Linked DNA regions of Homo sapiens: region 2 is linked to region 1. Evidence: promoter capture Hi-C in 16 types of primary human blood cells and fetal thymus (Javierre and others, 2016). All regions are on one chromosome and are shown on one strand. The core of a region is centred on a gene start or on the middle of the fragment in contact, and the rest is flanking DNA. Distances in the headings are between cores, read along the strand shown.

What was found. Contacts are between HindIII fragments. The CHiCAGO score rates a contact against its expected background, and 5 or more counts as called.
Region 2: a contact is called between a fragment that was not itself captured here and the fragment with the promoter of OBSL1 in region 1, in 4 of 17 cell types (M2 macrophages, activated CD4 T cells, M1 macrophages and 1 more). The highest score is 5.6, in M2 macrophages.

What each region holds. Positions count from the first base shown.
Region 1 is chr2:219,566,865-219,573,232 of GRCh38, reverse strand. OBSL1 (obscurin like cytoskeletal adaptor 1) reads left to right here and starts at 1,694. Exons shown (of 21, transcript NM_015311.3): 1 at 1,694-3,012; 2 at 4,909-5,178; 3 at 5,264-5,515; 4 at 5,658-5,960; 5 at 6,107-6,368. The coding sequence starts at 2,001. It overlaps INHA (inhibin subunit alpha), which reads right to left and starts at 923. Exons shown (of 2, transcript NM_002191.4): 1 at 591-923. The coding sequence starts at 858. RefSeq lists enhancers at 932-1,226, 1,913-2,750, 2,751-3,588, 5,711-6,368. The HindIII fragment of the contact is 22,564 bases long and covers 1-6,368 here.
Region 2 is chr2:219,393,574-219,399,393 of GRCh38, reverse strand. All of the region lies in intron 2 of DNPEP-AS1 (DNPEP antisense RNA 1), which reads right to left. It also overlaps a transcript of DNPEP not described here. Among named protein-coding and RNA genes, the nearest start is that of DNPEP-AS1, 7.9 kb to the right of the region's middle. The HindIII fragment of the contact is 1,761 bases long and covers 370-2,130 here.

The DNA of each region.
Region 1 (6,368 bases), core at 445-2,944:
CGAACGGACTGAAGTGAGGGAGGCAGGGGTCCTCTCTAAGAGAAAGGTGGACCAGATGACAAGAAAGCCCACCCACAGGAGGGCTTATCCATTCAGTCAGTGGAACAAGGGGGCACATATATGTTGAGACAGGAACTCAAGAGAAGATAGACTAGTTTTCCAGAAAAGTTTCCCAACTAATCTTTTGCCTGTATCTCTGATAGCTTCTCAGTGTCAGCTACCTGGGAGTAAAGAAACAGGGTTTGGAGCAGCGAGCAGAGGCAGAGATAGGAGGAAAGGTGGCAGGAAGGGGCTCAAGCCCAAATATCTCCATCTTTAGAGACCCCCGGTCTCCCAGCGCATACTTCCCAAATGCCTCCCACCTGCCATGCACTCTAGGTACAGCCTCTCACTTAATCCTGAGAGGTGGGCATTAGCCCATTTTACAGATGGGGAGACAGAAGCATAAGGAAGTTTAGTAACTGGCCTATTGCTGCAAAGCAACTGAGTAGCAGGACTAGGATTCAAACCCAGGTCCGCCTGGCCTGCAAACCCATGCTGTGCCTTGCTTTTTCTCAAAGTCATCCTGCCGGTTCCCCCACCCTCGTTACCTGTGGCTGGGAAAAGGATGGCTTGGGAGACATCCTCCTCTTCCTCGGGCTCAGAGCCCCTGTGTGTGAAGCCCCCCAGGGCATGTCTTCGGGGCAGCCGCCTGACTCCAGGGTCCCCACCTTCCCTGGTCACCGCGGGGGGCCCCAAGGCATCCAAGAACAGGGCCCTCACCTTGGCCAGAACAAGTTCCCGGGCCAGCTCCAGCCCCTGGCAGCTGTGCCCACCCTGTGGGGTCAGCAGCAAGAAGAGCAGTAGGTGCAGCACCATAGCTCACCTGGCCCTGCTAGTGGGGAACTCACACCCTGCCCCGTGCCCCTTCTGCCAGGGTCTGCCCAGGGCCTTTCCACTCTCCCCTCCCCATCCCACACCCACCCTCTTCTACCCTTCTCATCCAGTCTTCCCCAGTCCTTTCCACGCCCCACAGTCCGAGTTGCCCCTGCCCGTGGCATTGAGACCTCCTATCTCTGACGCAGATGTCTGTGGCCATGAGCCTTATCTCCCACTCCCGCCAGGGATGTGGGGGAGGGGCTGGGAAGGATTTCGCCTCAAGCGACCTGACTCACACATGCAAACATACAACACCTTCTCCCTACACACACACACACTCACACACACACTCACACACACACTCACACACACACAAATTCTCACACACACACACTCTCTCACACACACACACACAGACACATCCAGAGGTGACATCAGGTGGGACAGGAGCCTGGGAGCTGTAGCCGGCCAGCCCCAGAAAGTGTTATTTGTCAGGGAGACAAAGTGCATCACCCCTCAGACCTTCTGGGGCCCCTTTCAATAAGCAGCTGCTGGCCGGCCAGCCCTTGGGGGCAGGGCTGGAACCGGGGCTAGAACCGGGGCTAGGGCCGGGGGCAGGTGGTCCTGCCTGCTCTATACTTAGACCAGTGGAGCCAGTCTGGGCTCTTGTCCTCCAGCTGTGTCATCAGAGAATATTTTTGGGATTGGCAGCTGCAGGCGCCTCTGCCACTCAGGCCCAAGCCTGGCGGGCGGCTGGGGACCTGGCGGCTGGAGGTGGGAGGGAGGAGGGGGAAGAGGCCCAAGCTGTGGGAGGGGGCTGGGAAGAGAGGCTCCTAAGAGCAGGAAGCCAGGCAGCGGGCAGGGGAGGCTGCGGGGCCACTCGCTGGAGAGGCAAACAGGAAGGACTGCCCCCTGAGCGCCAGGCTTCGGGCCCGGGAATCGCCGCCGCCGCCGCCGCAGAGCTGCAGCTCGGGGCCGAGGGTAAGGAGGCGAGCCGGGAGCGGGAGGCCCGGGAGAGCTCCGCGGGTCCCCGCGCCCAGTCCCCAGCCGCGCCCCGACCCCGCCGCCCCGGGCCTCGGCTCGCCCTCCGCACCCCCCCCTGCCCCCCCACCGTTCGCCGCTGCAGGCGGTCGGCCGCCGCGATGAAGGCGAGCTCGGGGGATCAGGGGAGCCCCCCGTGCTTCCTGCGCTTCCCGCGGCCTGTGCGGGTGGTAAGTGGCGCCGAGGCCGAGCTCAAGTGCGTGGTCCTGGGGGAGCCGCCGCCTGTAGTGGTGTGGGAGAAGGGCGGGCAGCAGCTGGCGGCCTCGGAACGCCTGAGCTTCCCGGCGGACGGCGCGGAGCACGGCCTGCTGCTGACCGCCGCACTGCCCACCGACGCGGGGGTCTACGTGTGCCGCGCCCGCAACGCGGCCGGCGAGGCCTACGCGGCGGCCGCCGTCACCGTGCTGGAGCCGCCGGCCTCCGACCCCGAGCTGCAGCCCGCCGAGCGCCCGCTGCCATCGCCGGGGTCCGGGGAGGGCGCCCCGGTCTTCCTCACGGGGCCTCGATCCCAGTGGGTGCTGCGGGGGGCGGAGGTGGTGCTGACGTGCCGGGCGGGGGGCCTCCCCGAGCCCACACTGTACTGGGAGAAGGACGGGATGGCCCTGGACGAAGTGTGGGACAGCAGCCACTTCGCGCTCCAGCCGGGCCGCGCCGAGGACGGCCCCGGCGCGAGCCTGGCACTGCGCATCCTGGCGGCTCGGCTGCCGGATTCCGGCGTCTACGTGTGCCACGCCCGCAACGCGCACGGCCACGCGCAGGCGGGGGCGCTGCTCCAGGTGCACCAGCCCCCCGAGAGCCCGCCCGCGGACCCCGACGAGGCCCCCGCGCCGGTGGTGGAGCCGCTCAAGTGCGCGCCTAAGACCTTCTGGGTGAACGAGGGCAAGCACGCCAAGTTCCGCTGCTACGTGATGGGCAAGCCCGAGCCCGAGATCGAATGGCACTGGGAGGGCCGCCCGCTGCTCCCGGACCGCCGCCGCCTCATGTACCGCGACCGCGACGGCGGCTTCGTGCTCAAGGTGCTTTACTGCCAGGCCAAGGATCGTGGGCTCTACGTCTGCGCCGCGCGCAACTCGGCGGGCCAGACGCTCAGTGCCGTGCAGCTGCACGTGAAAGGTACGGCGGAGCCCGGGACCTAGGGAGGGGCCTCGAGTGTCCTCCGAGGCCCTCCGAACTCCAGCCCTCCTCGGTGCCCAGCGCTGCCCCCAAGACTGGAGGAGAGGTGGTCCGCGGGAATATTAAAATACCAAACCCGCCCGCCTCTCACTCCCCAGGGATTCGGATTTAGTAGGTCTCCAGGGTACTCAGGAACTTCTTAGCAAACTCCTTAAATGATTCCGAGGCAGATGGTGGAACACCACTAAGGAGTGATTGATGTACAAATCCGGAGGGCCCTAGAACTCTTCTTCCCTAGTGGTTTTCAACGTCTTTGTTATTTTACTCCTCCTTCCCCCACTGAATTCACAACCAGAGCCCCAATATATGAGACAGATAAAGGAGTAGTTTATGGGCGTAAATTGCTGAGTCTACGTATATAACAGGTACTTCTAAACCATCAGTGAGAATAAGGAGGCTATTTTATTGAATACAGGAATTTGAATTAAAGGCTGCATTCATGAGACCAGGCTCTGAACCCTGTGGGGACGGCCTGGCTGCATCTGTCACCTTGAGAAACAAGTGATTCAGTGGAAAGCTAGACTTGAGGGAGGACAAATGTCCTGCGTGTTTTTACTATTCTTTGATTAAACTGCTCCCCACGTTTGCAAGAAGAGGAAGGTGAAGGAGAGAAGGTTTATATTTCAAAGTTGAATCACCAACAATATCCAATAAATGGTTACATTCTCATAAACAGAAAATTCCAAAGGAAAAAAAAGCACACCCCAAACTCACCAGAAGGTAACGCTCCCCATAATAGGATTTCATCACAACGCAAAAGAGTACACCTTCACTAGTTATTGTCCAGTTTTTTCTCTTAGAGGAAAAAAAGTTGGTAAATTCTCCTGAGTCCTTCCTAGCATGCAGTCAAGCATGTTGCCCCCAGGCTGCGGTGGTGGCCTCACTGTTACAGTTCAATGCTCACAGATTCATCAGGTTGGTGCTGATCTGGACCTCCATCAGGAAAGAAAAGCCCGGAGGGAAGGCTAGAGGAGCTTCCCCGAGTTGCATACACACACGCACACAAAAACTTGCTTCTCCAGCAGCCCTAGTTAATCCTCTGATTTCCAACATCCTGTTTTCTTTTCTTTTCTTTTTTTTTTTTTGAAATACACTTTTGAAAAGGGTTAAAATAGCTAGGCACAGTGGCTCACCCTGTAATCCCAGCACTTTGGGAGACTAAGGTGGGCGGATCATTTGAGGTCAGGAGTTCGAGAACAGCCTGGCCAACATGGCAAAACCCCATCTCTACTAAAAATACAAAATCATTAGCCAGGCGTGGTGGCGCCTGCCTGTAATCCCAGCTCTACTTGAGAGGCTGAGGCACCAGAATTGCTTGAACCCAGGAGGTGGAGGTTGCAGTGAGCCGAGATTGCGCGACTGCACTCCAGCCTGGGCAACAGAGCGAGACTCCATCTCAAAAAAAAAAAGAGTTAAAATATTTTAAATTCTACTCAGACCCTTGCAGAATATGTGAAATGACTGGGGCGGGGGGAGCCAGGGAACAGTTTGGAAATCACCAATCTAGGGCCTGGAGGACCCCAGGGAACAGTTTGGAAATCATCAATCTGGTCCAACCCCTTCTCTCCCTTTCCCCATTTTACAAGTAAGGAGACTGAGGCCCAGAAGCATTGAAATGGACTTGCTTAAGGTGATGTGGCTAGTGTCAGGGCTGGATGAGAACTCAGGTCATCTTAGGAACCACCACTTCCCTTCTGGTAGTTTTCTGTGATTCCACAGTGCCCGCTGGCTCTGCATGAAGAGCACACAGCATGAGCTAATGCGCTTCTAGGTATCCTACTCCTAGTCTGGGCCTTCTCCAGAGCCCTCTCTTGTCTCTCTCTCCCCTCTCCACAGAGCCCCGCCTCCGGTTCACACGGCCCCTGCAGGACGTGGAGGGCCGTGAGCACGGGATTGCCGTGCTGGAATGTAAAGTACCCAACTCCCGCATCCCCACGGCCTGGTTCCGTGAGGACCAGCGGCTGCTGCCCTGCCGCAAGTACGAGCAGATCGAAGAGGGCACTGTCCGGCGCCTCATCATCCACAGGCTGAAGGCAGACGATGATGGTATCTACCTGTGCGAGATGCGGGGCCGGGTGCGCACCGTGGCCAACGTCACAGTCAAAGGTCAGCTGGCCCGTGGGGAAGAGGCTGAGGCGGAGGCAGGCAGGTGCTCAGATTCCAGGTTGATGGATTCCTGTCCGCATCTCAGGGCCCATCCTGAAGCGCCTGCCCCGGAAGCTCGACGTCCTGGAAGGAGAGAATGCTGTGCTGCTAGTGGAAACTCTAGAGGCCGGGGTCGAGGGACGCTGGAGCCGTGATGGGGAGGAGCTGCCGGTCATCTGCCAGAGCAGCTCAGGCCACATGCATGCCCTGGTCCTTCCAGGGGTCACCCGAGAGGATGCTGGCGAGGTCACCTTTAGCCTGGGCAACTCCCGTACCACTACGCTTCTCAGAGTAAAATGTGAGGGCAGGAAGGCCTCTGGACAGGCGAGGCAGGGCAGGAGGTTGGCCAGATGCCGGAGCTGGGTTGGTGAAGTAGATTTAAGGTGGAAGGGCTGTGGAGGCCCAAGCAAGGCCGGAACACATCCCTGCCTTGGTCTCAGGTGTCAAGCACAGTCCCCCAGGACCCCCCATATTGGCAGAGATGTTCAAGGGCCACAAGAACACGGTCCTGTTGACCTGGAAGCCTCCCGAGCCAGCTCCCGAGACCCCATTCATCTACCGGCTGGAGCGGCAGGAAGTGGGCTCTGAAGACTGGATTCAGTGCTTCAGCATCGAGAAAGCCGGAGCCGTGGAGGTGCCGGGCGACTGTGTGCCCTCCGAGGGTGACTACCGCTTCCGCATCTGCACAGTCAGCGGACATGGCCGTAGTCCCCACGTGGTGTTCCACGGTTCTGCTCACCTTGGTGAGTTGGTCCTGCCAGACCCACCCATCACTTCTCCTCCCTTCCCCAGCCCTCAGTGCTGGTCCTCTCACAGGCTTGCCATCCGCCAGCCTCTGCCCTCTGCCACACCTTCTAGTTCTGACAGCTGCACTCTGTCCCTGCCTCAGTGCCCACAGCTCGCCTGGTGGCAGGTCTGGAGGATGTGCAGGTATACGACGGGGAAGATGCCGTCTTCTCCCTCGATCTCTCCACCATCATCCAGGGTACCTGGTTCCTTAATGGGGAAGAGCTCAAGAGTAACGAGCCGGAGGGCCAGGTGGAACCTGGGGCCCTGCGGTACCGTATAGAGCAGAAGGGTCTGCAGCACAGACTCATCCTGCATGCCGTCAAGCACCAGGACAGCGGTGCCCTGGTCGGCTTCAGCTGCCC
Region 2 (5,820 bases), core at 1-2,500, 170 kb after region 1:
CGCACCCTAAACACTGCCTTAGAGTTTAAACACCTGCCAGTTTCCAAGCCCCATGCCTGGTGGACCAGGGTGGGTCGGTTTCTGTTTGAGATAGGTGTTGGCCTTTGATATTTTTATTACTGATGAAAAGCCATGATTCATAAGCTGCTGGTGGCCAGCTGTCAGCTTGGAAAGGAGTCAGAGGCCACTGAGAACAGAATTGCCTATCTTTTCAACCCATCTATAAAATGCCTACCTGGGCAGACACTGTTTAAAGGCCATTAAAATAGCAGACACAGAATCACCCAGTCCCTGGAACTTCATAGACATATTTACTCAAACTTAAGTGCTTGCAAGGAGTAAATAAACGGGAAGCAAAATGAGTAAGCTTCCCTAGAAATACGAACTGAAAGTAAACAGCCCTGTTCACTAAAATAAACAAGACAAATCCAGCGAGGATTAAATGACCTCTAGTCAGGTTGAGAGCCAGAAATGCCCCATCTTGGCTCCCAGAGGAAGGCGAGGGCCTGTGCCTGCCACCTGGAGGGGGTGCATCAGAAGCTGCATTCCTTGGGGGCTCAGAGGTGGGCCTGCAAGGGCAGACATTACCCTTGGGTGGTAGGAGTGCACCCCAGACCCCCCTGGCATCCTGCCACAGGGCCTGAAAACCCTCATGTTTAAAGATTAAGAAGTATGTCCTAAAAGTCTTCTGAAAAAGTCCAGGTTTTCTAGAGACATATTACCCTAGTTACTTTTTTTTTTTTTGAGATGGAGTCTTGCTCTGTCGCCCAGGCTGGAGTGCAGTGGTGCAATCTCGGCTCACTGCAACCTCCATCTCCTGGGTTCAAGCGATTCTCCTGCCTCATCCTCCCAAGTAGCTAGGATTACAGGCATGTACCACCACACCCAGCTCATTTTTGTATTTTTAGTAGAGACAGGGTTTCACCATGTTGGCCAGACTGGCCTCGAACCCCTGACCTCAGGTGATCCACCCGCCTTGGCCTCCCAGAGTGCTGGGATTACAGGCGTGAGCCAACGCGCCCGGCCCCAAGTTACTATTATTTGCCATTTATTCACTAATTTAGTAAACATTCATTGAGAACCTACTACATGTCAGGCCAGGCACTAAAGATATCAAGATGATTAGCGCAGCGACCTGCCCTTAAGTTGCTCACGGTTCAAAATGAGAGATAATACTAGCTCACAAGTACTGCCCACTTAACTATTTGAAGAACTCAGTGATGAGCACCCTACGTGCATTATCCCATTTACTCCTCATAACATTATGAGGTTATGACTATCTTCCACCGGTTTACAGATGAGGAAGCTAAGGCTCTAAGTCTGTGGTGTGATGGTAGATGTTTAACAGCTAGCTCTCTGGGCCAGGTGTGATGGCTCACAACTGTAATCCTAACACTTTGGGAGGCCAAGATGGGAGGACTGCTTGAGCCCAGGTGTTTGCCGCCAGTGCGGGCAACATACTGAAACTCCATCTAAAATTAAAAATTAAAAAAAAAAGAAAAGCATCCAGGCACAGTGGCTCATGCCTGTAATCCCAGCACTTTGGGAGGCCGAGGCGGGTGAATCACTTGAGGTCAGGAGTTTAAGAACAGCCTGGCCAACATGGCAAAACCTTGTCTCTACTAAAAATACAAAAATTAGCCAGGCATGGTGGCACATGCCTGTAACCCTTGCTAATCTCCAATCTCATGACTTTAAATAGCATCTGTACCCCGATAATTGTCAAATTTACATACCCCCAGCCCAGATATCTCTTCTGAACTATATATAATCTCACATATCCAATTGTTTTTGCACAGTGTCCGTGTGGGCCTAATAGGAATCTCCAGTGTAATGTCTTAATCTGAACTCCTTGTTCCCCAAACCTATTCCACCCACATTCTTGATCATATGGAGGCTACTTGGAAGGCTGAAGCACGAGAATCACTTGAATCCAGGAGGCTGAAGTTGCAGTGAGCCAAGATCACGCCACTGTACTCCAGCCTGGGCAACAGAGCAAAACTCTGTCTCAAAAAATAAAACAAAACAAAACAAAAAACCAATTAGCTCTCTGGAAGAAAAAAAAAATGCCCTGATTTGTAGTGTTTGCCAGTCTCAGTGGTGTAAATACTTGCAGGCCTGTCTCAAGCTTCCTGTCTGATGTCTCTGAATGTGGAACAGGAAAGAGACGGGGGTGGGAGGGGAGGGGAGGGGGGCTGGCTCTGGCACAACACGGCAAATACGACCCACAGCTAATAAATGCAGGAGCCAGGATGTGAGCCCGGTGTGTGGATCCTGAGCCCACGCTCATAACCACTTTGTTATACTGTCACTAACTATACAAGAGCATTGACATTCAAGGGGGATACATCTTAAGACCTTTGTGAAGTGCCAGTTTTACAGTGTTCCATAAAACTTGCAAGGTTAGTAACCAGCACTTTCCTATACCTCTTTGTTTTCATCACTAACAGGAGCAGTTGGTTTTCCTTTGAGGGCCATTCTGAAAACCTTTTTATTTGGAAATAATTTTACCTTCCCAAGAGGTTGCAGAAATTGTACATGGAGGTCTGTGTGCCCTCCACTCAGTTTCCCCAGATGGTTACATCTTAGATAAGCACAGCACAGTATTACACTCAGGAAAGTGACACAGGTAAAATGTGTGTGCGTAGGGTTTGATGCTATTTTTTTCTAGGTTTGCCAGATTTAGCAAATGAAAATACAGGAAACTCAGTTAAATTTTGTTTTTAGTATAAGCATATCCCATGCAATATTTGGGACATACTTATACTGAAAAGATTATTCCTTATCTTTTTTTTTCTTTTTTTTTGAGATGGAGTCTTGCTCTGTTGCCCAGGCTAGAGTGTAGTGGTACGATCTCAGCTCACTTCAACCTCCACCTCCCAAGTTCATGCGATTCTCCTGCCTCAGCCTCCCTAGTAGCTGGGATTACAGGTGCCCGCTACCATGCCTGGCTAATTTTTGTATTTTTAGTAGAGATGGGGCTTCACCATGTTGGTAAGGCTGGTCTCGAACTCCTGACCTCAAGTGATCCGCCTGCCTTGGCCTCCCAAAGTGCTGGGATTAGAGGTGTAAGCCACCCACGCCCAGCCCTTGTTTATCTTAAATTCAAATTAAACTGGGCATTCTGTATTTCATTTGGCAACCCTAACTTTATCATGGTTAGAGTCATAACCACCATTATAATCAAGACATAGAACTATCCATCACCATCAAGATATTCCTGAGCTACTCCTTCATAGTCACACATCCCTCCCCAAATCCTCCCTAGCCCTGAGCAACCACTAATCTGTTCTCCATCTCTATAATTTTGTCATTTTTTTCACTCAGCATAAGGCACCTGAGATCCATCCACAGCGTTGCATTTAGCAACCACTCGTTCCTTTTTATCGCTGAGTATTATCCCATGAGGGCCCTTTTTCACAAAGAACAATTATTTTTCAAAATTTCTTTAATTCAGTAAGTGTTTATTGTATATCCACTACCTGCCAGGCACTGAGGATTGCAGCAGCAAAGTAAAATTGATTACATGTCACAGGCCAGCAGGTTACTTCCAGTTGACAGAGACTTCTTCCTGTGGATCCTAAGACAGGAGATGACACTGGCGCTAGGAGAGGAGGATTGGCCTCCCTAAGCACTTCCCTCTGGAGATGCTAGGGAAGGCTTTGTGAAGGAGCTTGGGAGGCAGGGTTTGCTGATGGATCTGACATGGGGTGCAAGAGAAAGAGATGCACCAAGGCTAACGCCAAGAGTTATGACCTGAAACTGGAAGGACAAAGTTGCCATTTACTGAATGTATGGCAGATGCACCTGACAGCAATAACTGAAGCACACCCTGAGAATGACCCTGAATGGCAGATATACTTGATGTGTGTTTGGAGTTCTGAGCTAAGAAATCCTGGAGTGGGCAACCTAGAGATCCTCATCTATGAGGAACCTCTGAGCCCCCTTCCCATCCTGTGGAACAAGGGCCATACAGGGGATCAAGGCGCTTTGTTTTGGGTTAAATGAAGGTTGCCAGGTAGAGGTTGTTAGGGAGCAGGTGTTGAGTGAAAATGCGTGCTTTCTGCAGGTGACAGTGGTTCTACTGTCCAGCTCGCCACCACTGGACCATCTTGTATGTAAGTTCTCCTCAATAGACCCCACGTCGGCCGGGCCCAGTGGCTCACGCCTGTGATCCCAGCACTTCGGGAGGCTGAGGAGGGCAGATTGCTTGAGGTCAGGAGTTCGAGACCAGCCTGGCCAACATAGTGAAACCCTGTCTCTACTAAAAATACAAAATTAGCTGGGCATGGTGGTGCATGTCTGTAATCCTCAGGAGGCTGAGGCAGGAGAATCACTTGAACACAGGAGGTGGAGGTTGCAGTGAACCGAGATCGCACCACTGCACTCCAGCCTGGGCAACAGAGTGAGACTCCCTCTCAAAAAAAAAAAAACCTTGTCTTGTTTGCTGGCTCTGGGTCTCTTCTTTGGCCTCTTGAACCTGGGGCCTTCCTTATTGGAGTGGACAGGGGTTCAGCACAACACTGAGATGGGAAGAATGTGGATGGAATAGGTTTGGGGAACAAGGAGTTCAGATTAAGACATATTACACTGGAGATTCCTATTAGGCACACATATGGAGACTGTGCAAAAACAATTGGATATATGAGAATATATATAGTTCAGAAGAGATATCTGGGCTAGGGATACATAAATTTGACAATTGTCAGGGTATGGATACTATTTAAAGTCATGAGATTGGACATTAGCAAGGGAGTGAGGGTAGAGAGATTTCTAAGCACTGAGCCCTGAGGCCTTCCATTTAAAGATGGGAGATGAGGCCAGGCACCGTGGCTCATGCCTGTAATCCCAGCAGTTTGGGAGCCCCAGGTAAGAGTATCGCTTGAGGTCAAAGTTGGAGGCCAGCCTGGCCAACAAAGTGAGACCTCATCTCTATTTTAAAAACATGAATATAATAAAATAATAACAACATTAAAGATGGGAGATGAGGAGGAGCCAGAAGAGACCCAAAGGAGTGGTGGTGAGGGTAGTAAGTGTCTGGAAGGCCAAGTGAAGAGAGTGTTCCCAGGAGAGCAAACGGCTATGTCAAATAGGACCCATGGGTCAACGACAATGGGGACTGAAAATCGACCATTGGGTTCAGCATTGTGGAGGTTGCTTTTGACCTTGACAAGAAAAGTTGCGGTGGAATGACAGCGGTAAAACCTCATTCTAGAGGATTTACAAGAGAATGGGAGGAGAGGAATCGGGAAAACATAAGACTAGATAGTTCTTTTTAAAAGAGATTTACATAAAGAGGAGAAGGAAAATGAGGCCACTGCTGGAGGGAGACTGGGGGTTAAGGGAGGATTATTTTTTCTTGGGAGAAATTATAGCACATGTATATGCTAATCAGCTTGACCCGCCAGAACTGTGGAGATTGATAATGCAGGAGAAAGGGAAGAAGAGTTGATATGGTGCCCTTACGTAAGCAAGAGGGGTGGAATCTTGTGCACAAGTGGAGAGGGTGGCCTTGGATAGGAGCACAGATGGTTCACCCACAGAAATGAGGACAGCAGAATATGGAGCTCAGATCCTGGTAGGAGCCTAGGCGTGGCAGCTTAAAACTTGCGGAAATTCTCTTTTGAAGGCTTCTATTTTCACAGTAAAATGGGAACCATGGTCCTCGGCTGAGAGTGGGGATGGAGGAAGACACTGGATGAAACTCTCCTCCAGGAAAGCAAAGAAGCAAATGGCCCAGGAGATGCAATAGGACCTCTGGGCAGTACAAAGAACACACTTAGGTTAGTGGTTGAGTTTAAAGCAAGCTTGTCCAGCTGG